Linked DNA regions of Homo sapiens: all the other regions are linked to region 1. The links are contacts of gene promoters, found by promoter capture Hi-C in blood cells and fetal thymus (Javierre and others, 2016). All regions are on one chromosome and are shown on one strand. The core of a region is centred on a gene start or on the middle of the fragment in contact, and the rest is flanking DNA. Distances in the headings are between cores, read along the strand shown. Region 1 holds the start of USP53 (ubiquitin specific peptidase 53). Region 2 overlaps MAD2L1-DT (MAD2L1 divergent transcript). Region 3 overlaps MAD2L1 (mitotic arrest deficient 2 like 1). Region 4 overlaps METTL14 (methyltransferase 14, N6-adenosine-methyltransferase non-catalytic subunit).

The links. Contacts are between HindIII fragments. The CHiCAGO score rates a contact against its expected background, and 5 or more counts as called.
Region 2: a contact is called between a fragment that was not itself captured here and the fragment with the promoter of USP53 in region 1, in 2 of 17 cell types (total CD8 T cells and activated CD4 T cells). The highest score is 6.5, in total CD8 T cells.
Region 3: a contact is called between a fragment that was not itself captured here and the fragment with the promoter of USP53 in region 1, in 1 of 17 cell types (neutrophils). The highest score is 5.7, in neutrophils.
Region 4: a fragment that was not itself captured here is called in contact with the fragment with the promoter of USP53 in region 1 in 1 of 17 cell types (fetal thymus); the score reaches 5.1 in fetal thymus.

What each region holds. Positions count from the first base shown.
Region 1 is chr4:119,208,588-119,213,962 of GRCh38, reverse strand. USP53 (ubiquitin specific peptidase 53) reads right to left here and starts at 1,250. Exons shown (of 19, transcript NM_001371395.1): 1 at 1,090-1,250. LOC101929762 (a long non-coding RNA gene) reads left to right here and starts at 1,319. Exons shown (of 3, transcript NR_125931.1): 1 at 1,319-1,436. RefSeq lists enhancers at 856-905, 611-1,184, 1,516-1,635, 1,758-2,332, 3,488-4,687 and a silencer at 1,256-1,385. The HindIII fragment of the contact is 14,070 bases long and covers 1-5,375 here.
Region 2 is chr4:120,074,077-120,079,451 of GRCh38, reverse strand. The region is part of intron 1 of MAD2L1-DT (MAD2L1 divergent transcript); the gene reads right to left. Among named protein-coding and RNA genes, the nearest start is that of MAD2L1-DT, 9.8 kb to the right of the region's middle. The HindIII fragment of the contact is 1,023 bases long and covers 1,971-2,993 here.
Region 3 is chr4:120,050,907-120,056,281 of GRCh38, reverse strand. MAD2L1 (mitotic arrest deficient 2 like 1) reads left to right here. Exons shown (of 5, transcript NM_002358.4): 5 at 1-659. Among named protein-coding and RNA genes, the nearest start is that of MAD2L1, 13 kb to the left of the region's middle. The HindIII fragment of the contact is 3,129 bases long and covers 1,447-4,575 here.
Region 4 is chr4:118,690,717-118,696,091 of GRCh38, reverse strand. It overlaps METTL14 (methyltransferase 14, N6-adenosine-methyltransferase non-catalytic subunit), which reads right to left. Exons shown (of 11, transcript NM_020961.4): 4 at 4,480-4,560; 5 at 4,024-4,111; 6 at 1,566-1,656. Among named protein-coding and RNA genes, the nearest start is that of METTL14, 8.0 kb to the right of the region's middle. The HindIII fragment of the contact is 448 bases long and covers 1,788-2,235 here.

The DNA.
Region 1 (5,375 bases), core at 1-2,500:
CCTTTTCTTTTAATAACTAAAAGTGAATCAGATCTTAATCACAAAAACCTTCCTAAGTGTACTGCGTTTTTTTGTTTGTTTGTTTGTTTTTTGGAGACGGAGTCTGGCTCTGTCGCCCCTGCTGGAATGCAGTGGCGCGATCTCGGCTCACTGCAACCTCCGGTTCAAGCAATTCTCCTGCCTCAGCCTCCCGAGTAGCTGGGACTACAGGTTAAGTTTACTATTAAACCTACCTCAAAAATAGCCTTAGATATTCTTTGCAAATATATATATTTATACATACATACATACACACACACACATATATATATATATATATATCTATTTCCAGATAAGGAAACTTTCGGAAAACTTTGCTGTCCAACTGGTAATTCCCTGCATACTTTGCATTGATAAAGAAAACCTTGTAGCAGGGTTACAAACCTCAAAACATCCTCAGATTGCAGGTTTTAGAAACCCTCCCTATTACACCTGTGCAAGTACTTCCTGTTCTCCAACACTGTTTAAAAATAGTTTGGTAAATGCCCCGTAAGCCGCCCTTTAGAAGCTAAACATTAACTTTATATACATCACCACTACCACTGAGAAACCACCACCCCAAGAATCTCACGAGTCCAGTCATCTCTCTTCTCCAAGGAGGGAGCATAACCATCCTGGACCCCTTTAAGTAAAAAACTGTGTGCTCAGGCGAGGCAATGTGGCTTGGACAGCCAGGGGCAGGAGCCAAGTAAGGGTATTACTCACAATCCCAGCAGGACTCCAGCTTGTCGCCGCCCTCAAACACGGCAGCAATAACATCCAGGACCCAACAAGTACAGCACCTCCTCCCGCCTCGCGAGCGCCTCCAGCCTGGCCAGAGGCATCTCCGCCAGACGCGGCGAGAAGGGGCGAAAGGGCTGCGTGACCTCTGGCGTCTGAACCGCCCAGCAAAGAGAGTGTGTGTGTGCCCAGAGGGCCGGGGCCATAGGAGGTCGCCGGGCTGCGAGGGGAGAGACGAGCTCTGGGGCTAGAATGAGAGTGTCCCGGTCAGGCCCGCGGGGGTCGCAGGTCTCTGGATCTCCAACCAGAGGGCTAGTTTCGGAGACTTACCTTGAGCTCTACCCTCCTTGCGCGAGGAGCGTGCGGTCCAGGTAGAGAAATACAGGCCTTCCACTCCCACAGAGCTACCTCCCGCTGGCCCAGCCCCGCTTCACGCCGACACCCGCCAGACACACTGACTGCTGCCACAGTACCGAGGCTCACCGGGAACTGGAGCACAGGCGGCTGGTCTCCGCCGCCCAGAGCCCGACCCTGTGAGCGGAGCATGCGCATACGCCCCAATACCCAGGGACCAGTCAGGCCAGTGACACCTGCGATCAACAGGTCCCTGGAGCCCCGCCCCTCTCCCCGCCTCGAGCCCGCCCCTCGGAGCGGGCTCCGCCTTCACGCTCACCGAGGTAACTCCGCCTCCGCTCGCGATTTCCCGGCTTTCTGGACCTGCGGAATTCTATTCCCGCGGGGATTTGATGGCGTGCGCGATACAGTTGGCTTCCTCGGAGGCGCGAGATCGCGCGAGACCAAGAGATAGAACATTTCTGCAAAAGCGGCAGCTTGGCGCTGGAGTTTGGTTGTTGGGGGAAAGGTGGTTGTAGGACGTGCTGTCTGGTGTGGTGAGAAAGAGGCTAGTTCTTCAGGAGGAGGCGATTATTCTGGTGCTCTTGGTAGTTCATTCGGTATTTTCTAAGCTCAAGAACGCGGATCCACCAAGGACTTCACTTAGGTTAGGTGTTACCTGAGAGAACAATCCGTAGTTTGGCATCAGAACCCCATGCGGACACGCAGTTTCCTTTAGATTTCCGTGAGTCGTTAGACGATCTATTTGCAGTTAAATGGCTTCCTGTGGCGTGAATGTGTATTCCCCAAGCAGTTGTTTCTTGCCTTTAATTAGATAGCTTTAATAAGTCTGTTGACCTGGTTAATGATTGTCAGAAAAGTCTGTCCGCCTCTTTGCCGTGCTTTCGAACAGGTTTTAAGTTAAAAGGTACTGCTGGGAATTGGGCTAAACTTTGATTTTGAATAAACCTTTCTTAGGAATAGTAGTAAAGGAAAAACCCATCGTCACTGATACCGAATATCTCTCAAGTAAATAAAGAAGGTTTTGGAACTCATTCCAAAGCTGGTGTAAGTTGAACATACTAATTGTAAAAATGGATTTCAGTAAACCCAGAGGCACTTCTAAAAGTTTATTTGAAGAAAGAGGGGGAAGAAATATTGGTCGTTGATACAGGAGACAAATAGGACCCGTTTGTAATGTCTGAGGCTGAATCATTAAGAATTTATTGAGCATTTACTATGTTCCCTTTACTGAACTAGGCACTGTCAGAAATAGGATGAAATAAAGCCGTGGTTTCTGCCCTCAAAATATTAAAAACTTTGGGAGGGGTGGGGGAAAAAAAGATCCTACTCTGCATTTTTAAAACAATAAGAGCACACCATTAACTCTTCCCTCCGTTTCTCTAATGTCATTTTCTCCTCATTCTGCAGCTACTTTTCTGGTGCACTTTAAATACTGTTTTTCCGCTGCGTGGTCTCTGTTCGCCAGCACTCCATTTTCTTTTGCTGTTTCTGTTTAATGTTAATCCATGTCTCCTTGAGCAGTCTCTTTCCCATCATGGATTTACCTACCACGTGTCCTGTGCACCAAGAACTCTCAGGTGTATATCTATACGTCGGACATTTTTAAGCAACATCCTTTGGATTTCACACAGTATCTTAAATATGTCCCAAATTGACATGGACATCTTTACTATAATCTGTTCCTGATGCCATGTCCCTCTTCACCCATCTGGAACCTACACCATTTCCATTCCCTGTTTCAGAAAATGACACGCAACTGCCCAAGTCAGAAATCTATGAGTACCCCTGTTACTTTTCCTTCATTTCCTCTTTTCTAATATCAAATTTTGACTCTTATTTCCTTAAGTATCTCTCAGGTCCACCCCTCCACTCTCACTGTCTTAGTCCTTCAAGTAATCACCATCTCTTATGACTCATCTTCCTTGTACTATTGCAATATTCACAAGATATCCTCTAGTTATTTCCCACACCAGTCCAACCTCCATTCTATTAATAATTTTTCTAACGTGAAAATACGATCATTATACTTCTCTGCTAAGAATTTTTCATTACCCACCGGCAGGGCCTTTCATGATCACACTGTTAAACTCATCGCCATTCTTCCTCCAGTTCCTCCACATTAATCTTTCTAAAGTCCTTGCTTTCTATGTTCTTGGTTCTCTCAAGATCCTTTGGTTCTCTCTCGAATGCTTATCTCCATGGATCTTTTCATAACTTTCTGAGACAAAATTGTCATCCCTTTTGGGACTTATTTTTATAACAATTATGTTGTACTATATTTATTTCTCTGCAAATGTACCTGACAGAGTAACCCCCACCTCCACCCTTGAGAAATAATTTGAACTGTGGATAATAATGGCTTATACTACCTCCCTTCCTTATTTAGCAATTACAGAAGAATACCCTTCAGTTCACCCTGCTCAAGAATTTGACTAAACCCTGACTATACACTTTTAAAATTATATAATTTCATACTTTCTACCAGTTTTTAGCATATCTATGTACCGATCCTTAAATGGTAGAGTTGTAATAGGACCCAATTTAAGCATCAAGAGGGCAGAGTCTGAAGCAAACATGAAAAAATGGAAAATTGACATTGCAGGACAGCTGTTGCTCCCAGAAAATTTGTAATTGGGAAAGTCACAACAAGGATTTAAAATATTTTAATTCTTACTATTTGTCCTTGAGGGACGTGTGTGGGTTTGATTCCCTAGTTTCTGATTGGCTGGACCCAAATTTGTGAAGACCAATCTCTGCACCTCACACAGGCAAAGAGATCATGAAAGGGAGCAGGCTTGGCATGCCAAAGAATACCCTAGATCATTCAGCTGAGGCTTAGCCAAAGTTCACACCACCAGCACATATACACACCTCTTAGTGTTATTCTGGATTGATTATAACTCAGACTTTGAGAAATGTGCTACCCTGTGGCTAGATGCACCCTGCCACTAATGTCTGGTAGGAATAGCAACATTGTGTCCTGCGGAGCTGTAACCCAGTAGTTCCAGGAGGTAATCAACAGCTTAACCATGACTGAGCTGGGTGGGGTAGAGTGAAATATAGCATAGGGAAGTAGTAGATCAATGACTGACTCAGGGTTAGATACTAGACAGAATCCTTTTTTTCCTAAATGCATCCATAAGGACTGACAAGTGAATTTCCTTACTACCTAAGCTCTCTGTTTTTTCATGTTTCCAAGGCATAGCACAGTGCCTAGCACAGATGCTTAACAAGCAGTGTTTATTGGATGGAGTAAAAATTGGAAGTTTTGTTGATTTTTTTGAATAGAGTCATCTGTGTGGGCTAAAGTTGGAGAGGGCTTCTGTGGGAGATCAAATATGAACTTCAGCTTGGAAGGATTATAAGCAAGTGTATTTGAAGGCATTGAGGAAGATATGTAACTTAAAAGAGCAAAGTTTTAGAAACAGGATTGAACAAGGCCAGTACAGGACTACAATGGGAAGCCTTTGTAAGTTCTGGGGCAGAATGATTCATTTGGAATAAGGTACAGAAGAACTGTAGGGGAAACTATAGCTAGGCAAGAAGAGAAATCTCTAGGCTGTGACTCAGGGATGAGTCAACCAGAAAAATCTAGTCACAATTGACCACTCCCTCCTTGACATCTTCATCTCAATTCTTGTGACATCATTCCTTTATGGCTTTCATCCTGCCTCATGGGCTTCTCTTTCTCAGCCTCCTTTTCTCTTGTACTTTTCAATCTGCTTTAAATGTTGATGTGCCTTAGTGCCTGATCCTGAGATGTCATTTATCCTCATGGTTTTAAATCTATTTCCCACACAGCAGCCAATTAGTCTTTTAAAAATATTGACATGTTACTCCCCAACTTAAATTGTTCAATGACTTTTCATTCACATAGAATAAAATCCAAAATTCTTGCCAAGGCCTATAGACCCCTGAATGATCTGTTCCTGCTTCCGCAACAACATCTCATGCTGTTCAAGGCTTTGCATTCTCTATTCTCTATGTCTGGAAGACTAGTTCTAAACTGGGGGTGGTTTTCTCTCCCATGGACATTTGGCAATGGTTGGAAACATTTTTGGTTGTCACAGTTGCGGGCAGGGATGCTGCTAAACATCCTACAATGGACAAGACAGTCTCCCACAACAAAGAATTATCTAGTCCCCAATGTCAGTAGGATCAAGGTTGAGAATTACTGGCCTAGAACATTCTTCCCATGGGTCTCTAAGTGATTGCTATAGTAATGTGCCTTGTCATTGAAAGTAGCTGGTCTGAACGAG
Region 2 (5,375 bases), core at 1,233-3,732, 860 kb before region 1:
GGCTCCTCTAGTCCCAGCTACTCGGGAGGCTGAGGCAGGAGAATGGCATGAACTCGGGAGACGGAGCTTGCAGAGAGCCGAGATCGCGCCACTACACTCTAGCCTAGGCGACAGAGCAAGACCCTGTCTCAAAAAAAAAAAAAAAAAAAAATTTCCAACTCTTTTCACTTATGTGACATTATCTTTCCCTTCCTCCACTTCCCTATCTCACCTCCTCCTCCACTGAGAAGCTAAAGATTATTCTTTACTTGCATTTCAAGAAAAAATGAGAATTTATCTGCATCCTCACATCTCCCTTCTTCCTTGTTTTCAATTTCTAAGAGGGAATTGTCTCTTCTGTTTATTCTCTACTTGGGTCCTTGATGCCATTGCTTTCTGTGGCCTCAGGTGTCTGGCTCTATTAGTTAGGCCTTTCCAACTTTCAACTTCAGTATTTATATTTCTTTTGCTCTCTTTCCTCTAAATATCCTAAACATAAAATTCCCAAGATCCAGCAATTGCTTATGTGGTTTCTCCACTCTCCATTTCTCTTGCAAACCTTTTACTTCTATCTTCTTAGCCTTACTTCCAAACTCCTTGTAAAAGACTTTTATACCCTACCGTGTGACCCAAATTGTCTCCTCTTAGTTCACCAAAAATCTTTCAAGTACAAAATCTGTGACTCTTCCTCAGTCATTCTTATTTGTGCTGAATTATTTACTAAACTACTAAAATAGTATTTTTCTACCTAATCCAAATTCACTAAATAGGTTCTGACATTCCTCTCACAATTTGCCTCCTACTTTTCCATTTCTTCTGAGTTTCCTTCACTGCCTCTTCTTCCTCAATGTGTCATTTTATTAGCTATTACCTCAAAAAAAATTTTTTTTTTTTGCCTGGCCTAAAACCACTTGAAGGAAAATGAATCGAATGCCACAAACTTATCTATATCATCTCCATGTATAACAGCTCCACACCATGATCCCCCAAAACCCAGGCTGTTCTTCAGAGTACAACCAAACACATCTCAACACATTTTTAAAATGTCTCTCAAATTTGTCATCTTTTTACATTCCTGCTGTATTGCATATTCTCATTTCCTTTTGTCTGAGCTATCAATAAAATTGGCAGGACAAAGAGTAGGCTATTTCAAATGCCATTCTATCCCTTGGCCAGAATATTTGTTTAATGCCTCCTCTTAGTTCACTGAAGATCTTTTAAGTAGAAAATTGACAAGATCTTTTAAGCACAAAATTTTTAAAAAATTCCTGTTTTTGCAGCCCTAGTCAGGGTACCCCTTTTGGCCATCCACTCTTAGCCAGATGAGCCAGTATTGCACCCTGGATCCTACCTCTTGTTTCTTTTCCTCCAGTTTTGGACTCTTTTCTTCCACTTTTGGATTATTTTCCTTGTTCCAATTCTGTGACTTTCCAGCCATTCAGCTCCATTGGTTTCCATTGCTGAATGGGTCTCAGGAGTTACATAGCAAGGATGGAGGAATATTAAGGACCCACTATAGTTTGCCTCAAATTAGAGTTATCTAAAATATAGTCAGATCTTTGATGCTTTCAGGATTCATATTCTGGTACCATCTAGATTGCTTGGATTTGACTCCAGTTCTCCTAGCTGGGTGACCTTAGCTAAATTATTCAACTTCCTTCTGTAACTTAATTCAGGTAATAGTAGTATCTAACTCTTGAGCTAATGAGGGATTAAATAAAATGATTCTTGTAAAGCACATAGAAATGTGCCTGGCAGATAGTATGTGGTTAATAATGTTGGCTATCATTATTATATATGTTATAAGAGTTTCTATCTCATCTGTGCCTTAAGTTGTATTATCTAAAGCCTCCTTTAGTTATGCTAAACTAAACATGTACCAACCCAGGAAAGGTGCGTGGAAAAGTGGTGAAAAGCTGTCTTATTAACAACAACAGTAACAATATAATAATAAAACAATAACAATAACATATTAGCATTAAGCCAAAGCTTCATTTAAATTATCTCATGTAATACTCAGAAAAATTATATGTGACAAGTACTATTGTTACATCCATTTTACCGATAAGGAAAATAACTCCTATATAATTCTTCTTAAATTGTCCAGATAGTCTGCTTCTAAGAAGTTTCTCTGGAACATGCTAGGCTAACATCTTTTTTTGACATATCTGCATGTGATCTCTGCTGTTGGTAGATTGCTTGGAGATTCCTGCTTCTTTTAGACAAGACCATGACACTCCCTCATTATGCAACCAGTAATAAAGTTTTTTTTTTTTATGTGATCTAAGTGGACTTTTATGACAGGATTTGTTGAAACCCCTAAGATGGCTTTTATTCTGTGCTTTGGGCAGTGGTAAATAGATGGGGTTCAAGAGTCTGGAGCACTCCTTCCCAATAAGAATGTATTTTCCTTACAGGATTGTTCTGCAAAGTCCATTATAAAGAATGATAGCTCACGCCGGGCATGGCGGCTCACACTTGTAATCCCAGCACTTTGGGAGGTCAAGGTGGGTGAATCACTTGAGGCCAGGAGTGCAAGACCATCGAAACCTTGTCTCCACTAAAAAATACAACAATTAGCTGGGTGTGATGGTGCATGCATGTAATCCCAGCTACACAGGAGGCTGAGGAATAAGGATCACTTGAACCTGAGAGGCGATGATTGCAGTGAGCTGAGATGGTGCCACCACGCTCCAGCCTGGGTGAAAGAGCAAGACTCTGTCTCAGAAAAAAAAAAAAAAAAAAAAGAATGATACTTCAAATTTCCACATAGGCATGCAGGTCAGCCATCCTAACTAGGTCTATTCCATATTTACCTAGAAGAGAGGACAAGCACGGAACACTACTATTCCCAACTCAGGTGCCTCATCCCCTAATCAATAAGGTTTCTGCAAACATCCTCAAAATCAGTGGCTTCCAAAGTGGAATATATGCAAAAAACAATCCTTTTGGGAGTATAGGAAGGAATGTTACAACTTCTATTTAATTTATGTTTTAACCTAGGAAAATAAGCTTTACTAAAAAAATGGATTTCAAAAAATGGACTGACATTGCACACTCACACAGTCTCCATGTCAGAAGGTCACGTTCTTACTCATATGTGGAAGTTAAAAAAGTTGATCCCACAGAAGTAAAAAGTACAACAGAGAATACTAGAGGCTGGGAAGGGTAGGCGGAAAGAGAGGACAGAGAGATTTGTTAAAGGAAACAAAATTACAGCTAGATAAGAGTAAGTTCTAGTGTTCTACAGCACTTGTAGGATGACTACATCCTACAAGTTAATAATAGTTTAAAATAGCTAGAATGGGGATATTGAATGTTTGAAACACAAAGAAATTATAAATGTTTAAGATGATAGATAGGCTGATTACCCTGATCTGATCACTATACATTGTATAGACCACAACATCACTATGCACCCTGTAAATATGTACAATTATTATTTGTCAGTTTTAAAAATTTAGAAAAAAAAGGGAGTCATAGGCCATGATTGGTACCCTGAGGAAATGCAAGTCAGCTGTGCCAGATTTACTGGCTCTTTCTCTTTGCAGTACTGTGCTAACAAGAACTTCAGAAAAATTAACATTCTTCCATTCCGTTTTTCAAAAGACACTCATGTTATGGAAGGAGCACGTTTGAATAAACTTTTTTTTTTTTTTGAGATGGAGTCTCGCTCTGTCACCCAGGTTGGAATGCAGTGGCACGATCTCAGCTCACTGCAAGCTCCAGCTCCCGGGTTCATGCCATTCTCCTGCCTCAGCCTCCTGAGTAGCTGGGACTACAGGTGCCCGCCACCACACCCGGCTAATTTTTTGTATTTTTTTTTTTTTTACAGGGTTTCACTGTGTTAGCCAGGATGGTCTCAATCTCCTGACCTCGTCATCCGCCCTCCTCAGCCTCCCAAAGTGCTGGGATTACAGGCATGAGCCACCGCACCTGGCCTGGATAAACTATTTTTTAAAAAAGTCTCATCTGTACAATTGAAAAGTTTGGAAACAGAGTTCTCTAAACTATAATTTTTCTAAATTACAAATTAGTTCCAAAACTAACTAAAAGGTCAAACAATGCATTTAATTAGTTCCCAAACTAATAGGAAGGTATTGTTTTGATATTTTTTTAAAAAAAAAAGGGTTAAAAAACTGCTTAAACCATTGTTTTTGAACACATTCATTAAAATTATTAAAATATCATATGTCACTTTTTAACCAGCTTGTAAGAACACCTAATTGGTACCATTAAATTGAAATTTAATAATCCCTTTTCAGCAAAAACTTTGCATAATTGCTAATACAGGTAAATAAAAAGAATAAGAAGTCAACAATGTACTTTCTTCCATTTGGACCTTCATATCTTTGTGGTGTATCTCTTTTAGCTCTGCTGGCCAAAAAACACAAACCCCCCAAAACAAACAAAAAAACTATTAAAATAAGCTGAATTATTAGACTTGTAAACCACTCTTTCAAAAATAATTAAACCATGATTTTTAAAAGCAATGAAACATATTCACTGCAAAAATCTTAATATGGTTATTAATATATTTAGTGAAAGTAAAAATAATTTATTTTCTAATAATATAAACAGAATTATTTTAAAAGTATTTCTCATCTTTCTTAATTTCGAACAACTGGTATGATTTAAACACATATGCTATACCTAACACTGTGGAAAATGTTTATAATTTAGAGATAAATAACCAACATTTACATAAGTATATTCATAACTTTTTCTGTTACTGATAGTACACACTATTTTGGAAAACAAGACCTTTGAGAAAGAGAAGAGAAAGGTGCATTCACATTTCCAGATTGCTTCAAATAATCTCCCTACAAGTTCCAGTCTCCCAGGAGGTACAGGCAAGTGTACTTGGGGCATAAGTAGAACTATGACCTGCCTTTCCCACACTCCTGATCTTTTTCCTAAGTCAGGCAGGCAAGCATTGTAAGTGTGGAATGCTACACCTACAATGTCCCGAAGATGTTCATCTTCTATGTTATGAGTACTTTTGGCTGCTTTTGGGAGTTAAGTATTATAATTTCTTCTTATTTCAATGTAGACTAACTCAATAAGAATCTTATTATTCTTAAAATAGCTCAAAATTAATGAATCTTAATGTAAAATTCCAAAAACAAAAAGAGCCTATCTTATCGTCTAACTATACAAATTAATAACCACACTTTACATTTAAATCTCAAAATTCTGTGGATACATTTTAAAATAACTAAATGCTATGATCTATTGTTTCTCATACTATAGTCTACAAGTATACTCTTGGAAATATTCTTAATTAAATAAAACTTCAAATTTTCTTTTATTTTGATGATGTTGTAACAGAGATTAAGAAAGATCCTTAAAACAGAGAATTGCCATCTACCTGAGTGCAAAAAGTTAGAATCTGT
Region 3 (5,375 bases), core at 1,762-4,261, 840 kb before region 1:
TTCACATGAATTTTTATTTAATTCTCATGCTTTTGTGCACAAGTAAAACTGGGGGTCAATGGGCATGCAAATTGTGTCGTGGTTTTTGAAGTTTAGTGGTCTCTCCTATCCCTGGCCAAGGAAGTATGCAAATTGTATTGTGGTTTTTGAAGTTTAGGTGATCTCTTCCTTCTATCCCTAGCCAAGGAAGTTCATCCTGACTCCCCAACAAGCATATCAAAAGGAGTGTTTCGTCACCTTTTTCCTCTTACCCTTTACATCCTTTTAGCAATAAAGTGTTCAGAACAAACTGGTTTTCCTTTACTGTGCTTTGCAAAACTTATTCATGTTTTATTGGGTGACTTTGTATTTACACTTTCCTCAGATAGTCTGTTGTCAGATGACTTTGACCAATGATTGGGAGGAACCAAATACAGAGGATTTTATCCTATGCCTAATCTATATTGTCTACAGAGTAAATCAGGTATGAATTTGTGAACAGTAATGAAACAATTTTCCAACTAATCAGAAGAATTGTTTGTTAAGTAACCTTAATTACTCAGTTTTTGGTGAATTGTTTGCGGCTTAACTTGTAAATAATTTCTTATTCTTTTTTTAAATGTATGAAATATTTCTAGTTATTTTGTTCAATGTGACTGATAAAAGTTTATATTGGAATAGCTGTGAAATGGAAACTGTCTACTCAATTTTAAATTTTATTAGTTATATATTTTTAAAAATAGATCTTTTAGAGATATTTCCATTCTTCATAATTATGACTTTTAAAGCCAGCAGTATTCACTGAGGCTAAAAAAAAAAAAAAAAACAAACGTAGTTGGGCAAGCTACTTAATCTTCATTAGAGTTGACAATTCTGTTCCAATCTGGCAAAAACATTGTAGCCCTAGCAACAAGACTATTAGAAAAGGCCTAGAGTGAAAAATGTCAGAGTTGACCCTCTGATTACACAAGTTGGTTTATGTTACCATGTCACCTATTTTTGTCCTCCACCATGTGATCTATTTTTATACCAGAGAAACATAATATAGTTACATTTACTTGTACAAAGCCCATTTCATCTACATTTATCTGCACCATTTTGCTATGCAAGCTTGTTTGCACAAAGGAACTTACATGAGATCAAAATCTTATTTTCTTGGAATTTTATCTGTGTGGAAAAAGGCATCCCAAATATAAGCTGGACCACCCATAGTCCATTTCCTTGCAAGGGAAAGAGTCCAAACACTTTAAAAAACTTTCTAGATATGGACATATCTAGTGGATGCCTAGACATGGATATGAATTTCTTTCTGAAATGGCAGTCTCACTGACCAAGTACAGATGCTAGTGGTTTTAAAGATTGGGTCTGTGATGTGCAAAATATTTCATATCTAACATGCAGTTATTGGATCACTGTGTTCACACTCATAAGAGTCAGTACAGCTCTTTAAAAACAGGCTGTAAAGCTTACAGCCTCCAAGTCTAGGAAAGGAAATTCATGGGTATTGATCATCTACTGTATGCCAGGCACCACTGAAGTGCTTTACATCTGTTCAGCTGACTCCTAAATGAATGGAGGTTGGGGTTAGTGGGGAAATGGAAGACTTGGGCCACAAGCTGTGGTCTTAGAAACTGATGATGGGACATGGGGAGAGCCATGAGATAAAGGAAATTAAGTCTGAGTTCCAAATGAGGAGTCCTCTGGAGCAAGGAACAGCCCCCAAACCTCAATTTAGGGCTGTGAGGGAGAAGAGGGTGGGGAGAGAAGGACTGCATCCAAAATGGAAATTCTACAACTCCGCTGATGCCTCCATCGCCCCAGAGGAGACCCATAAAGCAAAACCATGAAGAAACACTGGGGAGTCTGAATCCTTTATAGAACATCTTTAGCTCAGTTTGTGGGCAGGGAAGGGATCAGTCTTCAAATTCATTCATTACATGCATTATCTCAATCCTTGCAACAACCCTGTGAGAATTGATATCCCCACTTTATAGATTTAAGAACTAAGATTCAGGAAGGTTAAGTAATTTGCCCAACTGCAAACATCCAGAATCCATGTGCTGGCCCAATTCCCAAACCAATAGGAACCAAATCCTTTTATTATATCTTGTTTCCTCTCAGAGTCTAGGGGACAGAGGAGGGTTCTCCTGCTCCAGACTTAGCTACAAAAAGACTAGAATACCGTGTGAATCTCACTCCAAATTGAGGAAGTAAGAACTTGTAGTCAAAATATTTGAATATTGCATTAACTTTTCATAATACTGCCATTAAATGTTCACACAGGGCATTTTGCTTTAAAACAGGAGCATTCATTTTCTTTCCAGCAACATTTCTTCTCTAATTCTTTCACTTGTTTTTGTAACCAAAGGTGTGTTGGAATTTGTGTTTAACATGTAATCCTGATCCTTCTACTTTGTGAGTTTTAACCAACTTGAGACATAGATGCAGGAAACAGAAGAAGATTGAAATTTATTATATGTATTATTACCCAAATTACAGCACTCTATAGTAAAGCTGGATTGGAGAATGAGCCTTACACTTAAGTCAGAAATAGGGTTTGCTACTCCTTCTTAAGTGAACCAAGCAGCCTGTGTAGTCACAGGTGGAAGGGCCAGACAACTTCATTCTTCCTTCTCCAGCCCAACTCCAACCTAGGAGGAAGCCTTGCATGCTGAATTGCCAAGGGCAAAATTAGAAAGCACTGTACTCGAGCTGCTACAAGCCATGGAAAAATTTCTTCTTTGCTGCTTGGGATGGGCTGAGAGAAAAAGTGGAGAGAGGGCCCCAGAACGTTACTCCAGTGCTGTTTTCTGTCATCAGGATTGGAACAGAAACCCTAAGAGTGGAGTAACAAGCATCCCTCCTGCTATTTGCCAGCTTTTTCATCTCTTGGTATATTACAGTGTGTGTTCCACTGGCATTATGTAAGTTGATTTTAGGTAGCATGATGACAGGCATTTTTTTAAAAAGTTTTAGTAATATATATGTTGTAATCAGAAAAATATGTAACATTGTTTATCATGAGTAAAAAATTGAGCGAAAGATTTTAAAAGTATACACAATATTTAAGGAAAAATATTATATCAGTATTAGTGTGAGCGATATGCAGACACGAAGGCCACATATGAAGGAAGGCTGGGAAACAATGTCATAACCCACTGGACTTAAGCAACTTGGAAGTAAGCCAGGGTGGGCTGTTCCTCTCAGCAGGGAAGTTGCTTGCTCACAGGGCCGTCATGTTCTCACTTTCCTAAACCCTCCTTCTTTCCACACTAATTCCCTCCAGAGCTGCCAATGGGCATTTCGCTTTTTGCCAACAAAAGTCTCTAGCAACATGAGTCAGACAGAACTGCATGCAGCACCCTAAGCAGAAAATGTATTCCCCATTCTATTTCCTATTACTGATTATGCTCAGTCATGTTGTCCAGAATTAATGAATGTATTCATTTTATATTCATGTATACATTCATGAATGTATTCATGAATGCCAAGACCAGATCAACAACATAAAAATATTCTAAAGTTGAACAATATGAAACTCTTCTCATTTTTTAACCCTCCAGACTAAATTCCCTTGCAAATGAAAAGCCCATAGAAATTAAGGTCAAATTCCTTCATTCCCAATTCTATACAATTGGCTCATTCTCAGCCAGAGGGTCTTACACTGATCTCTGGGTTCCTATAAGTTCAGCTATAACCTGGGCCGTCTTTCATAGGAATGGTTACAGCTTCTTCAGTCTTTTCAAAATTAATTCAAATTTCTAAGTAATTCAGCTCTCCAAGGGGTAACTAATCACAAAAGAAACTGTGGCTCCACTATGTAAGTTATTACAAGCAAAATTATGGTCCCCAAATTAAGTGAATGGTGTAATCTTTTTTGACACGGTTGTCGCCACCCAAAGAGCATGGCAGATAACTTAATGGTACCTGTGTTGTAGACAGAAGGACCTGAAAACAGCTGGGTTTCTGTTCCAGGGAGGGCCAGCCAGCGGTGCCAGTGTCAAGAGTTCACAGGCTGTAAATCTATATACACTGAGCAGAAACTGCCCATCAACAATTATGCTTCCACATGTTTAGTGTGTGTGTGTGTATGTGTGTGTGTGGTGGTGGTGGTGGTAGGTGTAGTGGCAATGCTTCTGGCAAACTCCCCATGTATATTACCTACTTTCTCAGTGAATGACATTTGAGACATTATTCCTTCTTAGAAAATTTAGATGTTTTGATTTCTTCATGTCTTGCATTTCATGCTTTTAGCACTTCAGTGCAAGACTGTGATTAGTCTAGATTAAACCTCTATTCCCAAATATCTTCAGGTGCGTTCTCTCTAGGAGCGTGAAGTCTCTCCTTTGTGGAAACATGAGGAATGGAGTAGTGACCATCACTCTACTCCCTTAGCACTATTTTAACTTAATAATATATCATATTGTATTTATTCAGATAATAGTAATTGTCACCACTATTCCATATGCTTTTCATTCCTACCTGGGCAGGTCAGGTTGGTCCCAGCTGACCAATAGTTAACCATAGTCAAAATTAAAAAAAAAAAAAAAAGAAGTTAAAACTCAAGGATCACAGAAAGAGCCAGGGAGTCAAGCTTACTCTTCTCAAGAAATAAGAGAATGATGTCAAAGTTTAGCAAAGCTTTAAGGAGATTCTAGATCTGATGGACTGAAATAGTCAAAAGTTAGTATTCCAAAGAATTAGGCCCCTGTAAAGACAGAACACAGTAAATTGAAAGAAGACCCCAGAAACCCTGAACTTCAGGGCAGGTACTTTTTCTGTTGCCCTTTAATTTCTTCCTGTCTCAATTGGACCTAACCATGAGTATGAGGAGAGTGACTGCAGCTGGGGAAAGAAATAGTGCCAAGAGCTGCAGCTGCAGAAAGTTTTGTTTTCATTTTTTTAACTTTTATAGTGTAAAATTAATATGCTCATAAGTTAATAAAATCAAACAGTACAGAATGGTACCAAGTGAAGAGTAAATTATCCACCTGTCTTCATTCCCCCACTCCCCACGTCTAATCTAGCTCCTTATTTTCAAACATGTTTTGTTCTGTTAGTGGTTATCACCATACCTTTAAGCATATGTTAATATTACTATTTTTTTTGTTGTTGTTTTTCAACTTTAGGTCACATCTATTGAAAGATGAGAAACTTAGTTCGTATTTCTTTATCCATCTACTCCTGAGTTTTTCTAGTCATATTATTTTCTTCTGGTGGTTATCTTTATAATTTTAAAGAATATGTTCAAGCTCTATATTTTGTTACATCAATTTTAGTATGTTGATTCCTTGCTATAGAAGGTACAAGAATTTGTGTCTGACATTGCTGGCCACATCTCTCTGCTACCTTAACATTCAGACTTTTGTGTTTTTTCCATTATCAATTTTAATACT
Region 4 (5,375 bases), core at 762-3,261, 520 kb after region 1:
GCTGGAGTGCAGTGGCACAATCTCGGCTCACTGCAAACTCCACCTCCTGGGTTCAAACTCCACCTCTTCTGCCTCAGCCTCTGCCTCCCGAATAGCTGGGACTACAGGTGTGCGCCACCACACCCAGCTAATTTTTGTATTTTTAATAGAGACAAGGTTTCACCATGTTGGCCAAGACGGTCTTGATCTCTTGATCTAATGATCCGCCCACCTCAGCCTCCCAAAGTGCTGGGATTATAGGTGTGAGCCACCGCACCCGGCCCAAAATACATTTTATCATATCATTAAATGTACAAAACCTTCAAAGCTAAATTCTCCAATTTCAAAGATCTCATATACATTTCTGAGGAAAACATTATTCTGCTTAGCAACGGTTGAAATGAATTATCATATTCCAAATTGTTAAGAATAGTATCTCAGAATGCTAAGCTGTAATTAATATTTGTTTTCTTCCTTTCCTGACTCTAAGTTTTCTAAGCTTCCTTTAACAAACAAATTACTTGACAAGAAGTCATTTAAAGGCATTTTAAGTAAGCTATCAAGAATACGGAGTCTCACTCCGTCACCCAGGCTAAAGTGCAATGGTGCGATCTCGGCTCACTGCAACCTCTGCCTCCTAGATTCAAACGATTCTACTGCCTCAGCCTCTCGAGTAGCTGGGATTACAGGCGTGCACCACCATGCCCAGCTAATTTTTGTATTTTTAGTAGAGACAGGGTTTCAGCATGTTGGGCAGGCTGGTCTCAAACTCCTGACCTCAGGTGATCCACCTGCCTCAGCCTCCCAATGTGCTGGGATTAGAGGGGTGAGCCACCATGCCCGACTTGGATGACTTTTAAGAAGAAAAAATATTTAGAGGCACTTTAAGCAAATTATCTGAAAAGCTGAAAAAAAACTGAGAGCCCCCTCTGAACTCAGCACCAGAGCTTCAAATTAACATTTTTGCTATAACGAAGAAATAGGGCTCAGTACGCTGGCTCATGCCTGTAATCCCAGCATTTTGAGGTTGAGGGGGGCAAATCACCCAAGGTCAGGAGTTTGAGACCAGCCTGAGCAACATGGTGAAACCCCGTCTCTACTAAAAATACAAAAATTAGCCAGGCATGGTGGTGTGTGCCAAAAATTAGCCAGGCATGGTGGTGCGTGCCTGTAATCCTAGCTCTTCAGAAGGCTGAGGCATGAGAATCACTTGAACCCAGGGGGCGGAGGCTGCAGTGAGCCAAGATTGCGCCACTACACTCCACACTCTAGCCTGGACAACAGAGCAAGACTCCATCTCAAAACAAAAAAAGAAAGAAAGAAAAATAGAGCCAGGAGTGATGGCTGAAATGCCTGTAGTCCAGGTGAGGTGGGAGGATTGCTTGAGCCCAGGAGATGGACACAAGCCTGGGCAACATAATGAGCACCAGCCTTTAAAAAACAAAAAGGCAGAGAGAAGAAACAGAGTAATAAAGCATGTTAACATAAGTGCTGAATTTAGGAAGAAGAAAAAAGGTTATAGGATAAACAAACTGATACTTTAAGCCTGAGTTGGGAATAAACAGTAATTGAATAAAAACACTTACATGGGAGGAGTGTTAGATTTAGCTATTAACTCATCCTTTAGCCTGATGAGCTCCCTCAGTTTAGGATATTCTTCAAATCTGTCAGCTAAACCTGAGCAGAAAAAATAGTAAATTCTGAATTCATCTCAACTGAAGTTAATATCAGTAATTCAAAAGTTATGAGCCCTCCCAAGAAAACAAAATAATACACATGCCACTTGACTCATATCTTTTAAGGAAGCTTAACTTCTAATAATTTTAAATAATATGTATGCAGATTTCATAACTAATGACATGCAAGTAAAAACCCAGATGTTCTAAAACCCAGTCCAAGTCAATAAGCCACTTAATATCACATATTTATTAAGTTAAACCATTACCCCTAGCATCCAGTTTAACATTCAGGAAAAAAAAAAAAAAACAACTACCTTTCTTGTGTGATTCTTTTCCCCCTTCCTCTTAGCTAAAAAAAAAAAAAAAATCCTTATCCTAAAGAACCTGATTGTTAAGATTTTTACTTAATTTCTTGGATAGTTATTCAAAGCAAAGAAAATGAGTGTTTCTTTTCTTCCCAAACAGGAAGCACATTTATAACAACATAAATTATATGAACTTCCTAATTTAAAAACCAAAAGTACAAATATTAGTAACTTTAATATCAAAGAAAAAAAGAAAATGATTTTGTAAAGCTTCCTCAGTCAGTGGTTGCAGATCACATTTCAATTAATGAATTTGAAGATTTTATTATAGTCAAATTTCAAGACAGCAGAGTCAGCTTCTAATCACCTATAAAACAGAAGGTACAACTTTTCCTCAATCTGTAATAGTTTTCTAAGTATGTTTTCTTTGCCTTGGGGAGGCAGGTATCCTAAGAGCAGAGCAGTTTATATCTAAATCTGGTTATACAATTTAACCATAAATTTTTATGCTACATCTACATTTTGCTTATAAAAACATTAAAATTAGTTTCTCTACTTCAAGAGAAATGTTGCTTACAAGTAACAAAGGAAAAACTAAATTTGATTATATCAAAAATAGAATGTTTGTGCTACAAAATATACTATCAAGAAAGTCACCCACAGAATGCGAGAAAATATTCGCAAATTATTCATCAGGTTAAGAGACTTGTACTCAGAATATGTAAAAAATACACACCCACACCCACACACAAAGAGAATATATAAAAGACTCTTGTTATTCAATAGTAAAAAGACAGTGAAATAATTTAAAAATACACAAAGTATTAGGATATTTCTCTAAAAAAGATATTTAAATGGCCAATAAGCATAAAAAAAGATGCTCAATATCATTAGTCACTAGGCAAATGCAAATCAAAACCACAGTAAAATACTACTTCACACTTTCTAGGATGGCTACAATAAAAAACAGATAATAGTAAGTGCCAAAGATGTGAAGAAATTGGAACCATCATACGTTGTTAGTAAAAATGTAAAATCGTGCAGCTGCTTGGAAACACAAGAGAGTAGTTGTCAGAAAGGTAAACATATACAATAGCATATTACTTGGCAATTTAAAAACATGAAGTACAGGCACATGCTTCAACATCGATGACCCTTAAAAATATGCTAAGTGAAAGAAGCCAGTGACAAACCACCACACATTGTATAATTTCATTTACAAGAAATGTCCAAAATAGGCAAACGTATAGAAATAGAAAGTAGATCAGCAGATACTTAAGGCTGAGAAGGGGTAGATGAGAGAGAGGAAATGGGGACTGACTGCTAATGGGTACAGGGCTTCCTTAGGGGAGATGCAAATGTTCTAGTATAGATTGTGAAAATAGTTGCACAATTCTGTGGATACATTAAAAAAAAACTCTTTTGAGTGAATTGTACAGTATGTAAGTATTATCTCAATAAATCTGTCTAAAATGCAAGAATAGGCATAATACCAAACTGGAGCCAAAAAGAAACAAACAAAAAAATAGTAATATCGATTATAGAAAAAGAAGGTATACAGGGCCTGGAGCGGTGGCTCACGCCTGTAATCTCAGCACTTTGGGAGGCTGAGGCAGGCAGATCACCTGAGGTCAGGAGTTCCAGACCAGCCTGGCCAACATGGTGAAACCTCGGGAGTTCCAGACCAGCCTGGCCAACATGGTGAAACCTCGTCTCTACTAAAAACACAAAAATTATCTAGGCACGGTGGGGGGTGCCTGTAATCCCAGCTACTTGGGAGGCTGAGGCAGGAGAATCGCTCGAATCTGGGAGGCAGAGGTTGTAGTGAGCCAAGAGAGATCACCCCACTGCACTCCAGCCTGAGCAACACAGCAAGGCTCTGTCTCAAAAAAAAAAAAAAAAGAAAAGAAAAGAAAAAGAAGGTATACCAGAAGCACTGAGAACGAAAAAAAGATGTCAAGCTGGAGAAATAATTTTGTTAGAAATATCCACAAATTGGATAAATTACATGCATGTAATTGAGAGTCAGCAATAGCGTAGTCCAAACAAACCTGACATACCTACATCCCTGATGAAATTCTGAGGTCTATGTCCAGTGTCTACAAAATGTTGGCAGTAATCATTATGGGGATTTAAGCTCTGTGTTCCCTAAATTAAAAAACAAAATTAAATTTGTAACATGCATTGTAATGGCAGATAAATTATCTCTGTACTGTTTTCTATTACAAGGTGATATAAAATGCAATCAATTGATAGATTTAAAAATTAGTAATATTTGAAAATACAACTAAAATTATTACTTTTCAGTAGCTACTGATATTAATATACTGTTACCTCACACTAAATAGCCAAATATCAGAAGACTATTTCATGAGTAATTTTAAATAATCTTTATTTTATAACAATGATCCCTCAATAATTAAAAAACATCTTGAAGACAAACAGGTATTTAAAATCTTTTCAGGTATAGAACTTAAATATGAAGAGTTACAAAATTTGAAAATTATTTATTTTACCTTAAGAAAAGTACTAGAATCTTTGTAAATCTCTTCTTCATATGGCAAATTTTCTTCATCCTGTTGCATTTCTAGTTCATCCTTGAAAAACATAAGATTAAGTAAATATTTTACAAATAGGGGTTATTTCTCTATCACATCCTGATTAAAACTCAACATATTTTATTTCCTTAAGATTTAATAAATGTTTTAAATTAGCATTAAAATCAAACATTGAAGTCTTTGCTTTCCCATTATTAGATCTAGCTAGCTGATTATTTTCATAAAAAAATTTCCTATCATAAATAATTACTGTAACTACTATTTTGCTGATTGATTTGTCTAAAACTATTTATCTCATATACAATACTATAAGTGTTAGAGTCTAGTTTGAGTCATGAAAGATACGACCACCAATGTTGCAATATGAAACTGCTATGCTTAAAGGTCAAAAAGGTTAGAATATCAGCAACTGCATATAGTTCCACCTAAAATAATCACTAACATTTTAATTAATAAAAAAAAAAGTCACAAACATTTAAGTTACATATTATCAGAACTGCAACATATAAGACAATATTCACGAGATTAGGTATTATTTCACTGAACTTTCTAGAGATTTTATTGAAACTATACATTCTTATCTCTATTATATACAATTAACTTGAAAAAACAAAAGTAAGTTTTTTGGACCATAATACTTTCAACTATTTCAACTAAATATTGCAATTACAAGTTAGAAGTTGGGTTTTTCTTGAGCCTCTTTCAGAAATATTTCTACAATGTAGTCCAGGCCATAAATCCTAAAAATATCTTGATTATACTATCCAATATTGTTAACATGGAATAACAACTCCTCAAAAAAGCTTCTCAAAATCTGATCCAAAGCTACTGCAGCTTCTCAAAATCTGATCCAA